Linked DNA regions of Homo sapiens: region 2 is linked to region 1. The links are contacts of gene promoters, found by promoter capture Hi-C in blood cells and fetal thymus (Javierre and others, 2016). All regions are on one chromosome and are shown on one strand. The core of a region is centred on a gene start or on the middle of the fragment in contact, and the rest is flanking DNA. Distances in the headings are between cores, read along the strand shown. Region 1 holds the start of ARL4A (ARF like GTPase 4A). Region 2 overlaps DGKB (diacylglycerol kinase beta).

What was found. The method cuts DNA at HindIII sites, captures the fragments that hold promoters and counts their contacts. A CHiCAGO score of 5 or more calls a contact.
Region 2: a contact is called between a fragment that was not itself captured here and the fragment with the promoter of ARL4A in region 1, in 1 of 17 cell types (M1 macrophages). The highest score is 5.1, in M1 macrophages.

What each region holds. Positions count from the first base shown.
Region 1 is chr7:12,686,194-12,689,131 of GRCh38, reverse strand. ARL4A (ARF like GTPase 4A) reads right to left here and starts at 1,499. Exons shown (of 2, transcript NM_005738.5): 1 at 1,404-1,499; 2 at 1-966. The coding sequence starts at 877. The coding sequence ends at 275. It also overlaps the pseudogene LOC100505995. RefSeq lists silencers at 1,935-1,984, 2,185-2,464 and an enhancer at 1,454-1,990. The HindIII fragment of the contact is 3,768 bases long and covers 164-2,938 here.
Region 2 is chr7:14,694,370-14,697,307 of GRCh38, reverse strand. All of the region lies in intron 8 of DGKB (diacylglycerol kinase beta), which reads left to right. Among named protein-coding and RNA genes, the nearest start is that of DGKB, 210 kb to the left of the region's middle. The HindIII fragment of the contact is 6,153 bases long and covers 1-2,938 here.

The sequences.
Region 1 (2,938 bases), core at 250-2,749:
AACTGTGTTCTGGTCAATTTACTATCCTTGCTTGGCTTCCCCAAATGGTAGTACCAAAAGATTTGTGGGGTAGGGAGAAGAGACCACTTTAAGAAGCACTGCATTTACTCATCTTCCACAAGGCAACAGAGTTGGGCATCTGATTGTTCAACAAAACAAAGCTTTAATAGCATCCAGGAGGGCAGACAGGCAAACCACGCTGTAGACACTCTTCTATTTGTCAAAATCAGACCAGAGAAAACCTACTCCACACAGATATAATAGGTATTGATATTCATCTTTTCTTTTTCTGTTGCCGCAACATTTTTCTTCTTTTAATGATCATATCATGTAGTTTCTCAAGTCCTTCCTTTAGGCCATCTCCTATGATTGCACAGGTAGGCTGCAAATGCCAAGGAGTTGATGAGCTCAGTTCACCCATTGCTAACAATTTCTCAATTTCTGAAAGTGACAATGAGTTCCTCAAATCTTGTTTGTTAGCAACTATAAGTACAGGGACTCCCTGATTTTCTGATATCCTAGTTATTTTGTGAAGTTCAGTTTTGGCTTCTTCCATCCTTTCGACATCAACAGAGTCCACAACAAATACAATGCCATCTGTGCATCTGGTATATGACTTCCACAGTGGCCTTAATTTCTCCTGACCACCTACATCCCAGAAGTGAAAAGTGACTGTTTTAGAATTTCCCAAGGTTACCTTAATTTTCTCAGTGTTAAATCCTTTGGTAGGTACGGTATTTACAAATTCATTGAACTGCAGCCTGTATAAGACAGTTGTCTTTCCAGCACAGTCCAAACCCAGAATAACAATGTGGAAAGACTGAAATGAAGGCAGGTTGGACAGGATAGAAGTCTGGTCTGACAGCCCATTCCCCATTTCCAGGTGCAAATAAATGTCCCAAATTGAAATGCTTTTCTCTTCTTGGTTTACAACTTCTCTTGGTAGCTGATCCAGCTATAAGACTGCTGGGAGACGGAAGAAGGAATAAGTTATTCTCCCGAAATAATACATTAAAACAGGTTTGCTCTACTTTGCTAAAATAAACAACACGAAGAACTTACTATAACTTGCTGCGCTAAACAAACCAGACGAGATATGAAACGTACATGAAAACACACACAGTCCAAGACAAACGATGGAATAACAGTGATTGAAATTATCTGGTTTACTTAAATTGCAGTAATATGTACGTTTTTCTCCTGGGTCCCCAAACCTCAAAGACCTCATTCTGGAAAGAACCCAGTCACCAGTATCTGGTCTAAGTGGCCGTAACCACAAAGTGCCTATCTGGCAGAAAACTCATAGCAGATAGTCCTATCTTCGGAATCTAATTCCACATGCTTAACAGCATACCCAAGATCACTATTACCTCCTACCCCTTGCAAAATAACAACGTTCTCACCTCCCGATCTGGAGTCTGGGTCCAAATGAGAAAGCATTGGCAGGCGTTTCTACGCAGGGATAAGCACCCTTCCAGCTTAGCTCTCCAAGCAGCTCTGGCAGTTGCCGCACGAGAAACCTTGGACTCAGACTCCGACCACGCCCACTCCTCCCGGTCCACTCATGATCCCAAATCCCATTGGTCACCCGCATCAGGGAAGCCATGCAACTCCCGCCCCCGCTCCCTAATTGGTGAGGGTAACTGCCGCTCCCAGCGCGGCGGAGCTGAGCTCTCTCTCGGTCCACCGGCACCACCTGTTGCCCTTAAGTTAGAAAAGGCGGCGTTCCCAGAGGGAGCCGAGCAGCCGCTGCAGGTGAAGGGGAGCCTCGGGCGGTCAGGTCGCCGCCAGGCTGCCGGCTCCGTTCGGCCCGGCGCACCTGCAGCGCAGCCAGGGCGTCAAGCCAAGGCTCTCACATCCGGGGCCCGCAGTCACTGCCAACGCGTTAACCCTTTGTCCGCGGGCCCGAGGGTGCCGGCTGTTGCCGCGCGGGCCCCTGAGGCGCTAGAGATCCCACCTGGCGCGCCCGCCGGGATAAGCCCATCCTCCCCGAAGTGGGATCCCTTCACCCTGTCCCTCCGCACACGACCGGCTCTTCTCCCTCGGCAGGGCGTGGCCGCCCCGGCCGCCCACCCCGCCGCGGCTCACCTGACTAACCGTCCTTCCCTCTTCTTCATTCAGCGTCTCTCCCAGCCGCTGGGGAGGCGCGCTGATACCTGTTCCCTGGCACCAGGGAGGCGTGGGCGATGGCAGAGGACTGGGCGCCTGGCGGGCGCCGCGCGCCAGGCTGCCCTAACGGTGCTCGCCCGGCAGCTCCACGCGACAGTCCCCGCCCCCTGCCCGCGCGCCGCCCGGGCGCCGGCCTGTAGGGGGCGCGCAGGAGCCGCGTCTCCTAGCAACGCCAAAACAAGGTCGAGTTCGAATCGGCCTAGCGCTGGCTGCCCGCGAGGTCGGATGGGACTTCCGGCCTCACCCCTGAACGGTTGCTCCGGGTAGCTCTGTCTGCGGCGGCCCGCCAGCCTGGCACAGGCCCCGCCCGGCACCGCCTTCCCTCACGTCGTCTAGGGCGTCCGCGGGGCAGCAGCCACGTGATTCGCGGTTAGGGATTCCATAGTTCACGGGTTACGGCACACACGCGTTACGTATATATCGAGGTGACGTGGAAGTCCCCCAGTAGTTGACCTTAAACAGCCTGGGTTGACTGGCCTGGTAACTGCGCCTTCATTCGCTTTTTGTAGAGCAAATGAACGCGCTGTCTCACGTGTTTCTAGCAGCATCCCGGGGAACTGGCCACAGATAGAAATATTCCAGTTTGACACATAAGGAAATACACTCTGAAAGATGAAAGGGATGTTTCTTTTTTTCTTTTCTTTCAAATTGCTCACACAATTTTAATTGCAATAGATATAATTTCCAATATACCATTCAACTACACCATTTGTATGTGCTGGAGTGAGACAGGAGTATTTTGATTGAGTGTCCAGTTCTCTTTAAAACT
Region 2 (2,938 bases), core at 170-2,669, 2.0 Mb before region 1:
TGCAGAGAAGTAAATTGAGACCCAAATATGTTAAAATTACTTGCCCAAAGCTCTTCAGCTAGTCAGGAATTTTTAATTAAATTGTTTAGAGAAAGAGTATCTAAAAATGCTTTTAAGAATATAGAATTCTTATTTTGAATAAACATCAAAATTTCAACATTATTAAAATACATATTAAAATATACTTGACTTGAAACCATAACTTTGGCCACAAAAAATATTTTGGGGAAAGTTGATAAGAGATATTGAGTTTATATTATTTTTAAAACCTTTAGCAAAGTGTATATGAATAAAGCAATGCAAATAAATTTTATTTAAATGATTTTACATTTTATGCAAATTCAAGAAGTGTATATTTAACCTCTGTTCACATCTATGCGGTAAACAACAGGATAATGGCATGAGTATATGCTGCAAGAACTCTGATAGCATTTTCCTGTCTTACTGGGATTAGGATTTTTCCAGTTTTAAAGCAGCTATTGGGAAATGCATATGCTGTGCTTCTAGTGAGTGGCAGATGTCATTAACAGGTTGTCATTTGTATGTGGAATAATAAAGTAGATGGTAACATGTATTTAATTTATTGTTTGACTCACCTTAATATTTTCACTGAAAGCCAGGAATTTCTGATTATTTCTGTTGCCCTTGTAATCGACAACAGCTTTCTCCTCTCCTACTCACCTTTCTACCTGTGCAGATTAGTCATCTGTCAATCAAGCCAGCTTGTTATTAGATGGAGAGTGGGAGGGGGATTTGTTTTTCCATTCAGGTTTCTTTTTTTTTTTTTTTTTTTTTTTTTTTTTTTTGAGACGGAGTCTCGCTCTGTCGCCCAGGCCGGACTGCGGACTGCAGTGGCGCAATCTCGGCTCACTGCAAGCTCCGCCTCCCGGGTTCACTCCATTCTCCTGCCTCAGCCTCCCGAGTAGCTGGGACTACAGGCGCCCGCCACCGCGCCCGGCTAATTTTTTTTGTATTTTTAGTAGAGACGGGGTTTCACCGTGTTAGCCAGGATGGTCTCGATCTCCTGACCTCCTGATCCACCCGCCTCGGCCTCCCAAAGTGCTGGGATTACAGGCGTGAGCCACCGCGCCCGGCCTCCATTCAGGTTTCTAAACAGCGGGCACTAACACTTCTCAACAAAAGCATTTTTGGTGTGTGTGTTGGGGGGTGTGTTTGTAGATTTGAGAAAAAGGACATCAGGATGCTAGGAGGAAGGGGAAAGCTGGTGGCTGAGTAGTCTTTCTACAACAAATACCTAGTGTATTTGTCAGATTATTGAATGGAGAATACAAGTAATAAACTATAGCATTATTTGACATGTGTGTTACTGATAAGTCTGCTACTATTCCAGGGAGCTGAAATGGTACAAAGTTGTACATTATGTCTGCTGTCATGGGAACTGCCTTGTCATCTTGCCTAAGGCTTCAGTAGTTCTCATTGTAAACAAATGTACACATCAGCAGGCTTCTCATAGGTTTGCATATATAAATAAAGAGAAATGGGCCGGGCTCGGTGGCTCAAGCCTGTAATCCGAGCACTTTGGGAGGCCGAGGCAGGTGGATCATGAGGTCAGGAGATTGAGGCCAACCTGGCTAACATGGTGAAACCCTGTGTCTACTAAAAATACACACACAAAAAAAATCAGCCGGGCGTAGTGGCGGACGCCTGTAGTCCCAGCTACTCGGGAGGCTGAGGCAGGAGAATGGCGTGAACCCAGGAGGCGGAGCTTGCTATGAGCCCAGATTGCGCCACAGCACTCCAGCCTGGGCGACAGAGTGAGACTCCATCTCAAAAAAAAAAAAAAAAAAAAAAAGAGAGAGAGAGAGAGAAATGAACATTTGAGGTTGATTACAATAGTAGTAGGGAAGACTGGAGCGTCCCTAGAAGTTTTTATCAAATTAACTCAGGCTCTACACTCAGTTCAATCTTATTTTTTTATGAGGCCCATGGGATTTGAGACACGGTCAGAGGATGGCTTTAACATGAGATTTATTAGGTACAAAAAGGAAAGCATCACCCATCTGAAACAAATGTCATTGTTTTATTTCTCTTATGATTGATACATTTCTACTAATTCATCAGCAAGCTCTTGAGAGGCAAGAGGAGAAAAATAATCTAATTTTCAAATACAATACTTCCTGAGTGAAGACACCAAGCACAAGAGTGTCTAGGCAGACAATACTTCTACCAACAAATCAAATATTTCATGCATTGCATCTTTTCCAATCTCTGTTCCAATGCTCTCTGCATTTCTCTTTTTTCCAAATTGATTAACATTTTTGTATTATATAAAGACGTGAGTTCCTTTCTTCATTAGAATTCTTACCATGTTTGCCATCTTGACGCCATTAGATGGGAAGTACTTTGCTTTCCCAGCAACCAAGGGTAATATGTTTGGAACTTATATATAATTTCCATTAATAATAGCACAAACAACACTATATGACTCTGACTCTGTATGCCAGGGGCTCGTCTGCTTATAATACGTTAGCTTATTTAATCCTCACAACAGCCCTTCTAGGTAAGTACTGATATTGCCACCATACCACAGAGAGGTAAATGTATTGCAAACAAACACTGCAGAGAACATTTTAAGACATTACGTGCAAGTCATCTTTAGAAACGAAGTTTAATTAAACTTGATTTGATCCTTTAACTTCTCGACTCTATTAAATTCTGATAGGCAATTAAAAGCAACTAAATTCCTTCGCCCCTTACTACTTAGCAAAGAATTATATGAGCTCTTTGCCATGAAGTTAATTTGTTCAGACATTTTCTGGCATATATATGAATCTAAAAAATAATATGAAGAAAGTAATTAAAGACCACTTTCACACTTATTAAAGATTCTTCTTGTTTTAGCTGTGCTGTTCATGGGAAAAATATTGAAAAGTTAAGCACTTATTTCTAAAAAGTGATCAGTGTTAAGTGGCCAGGT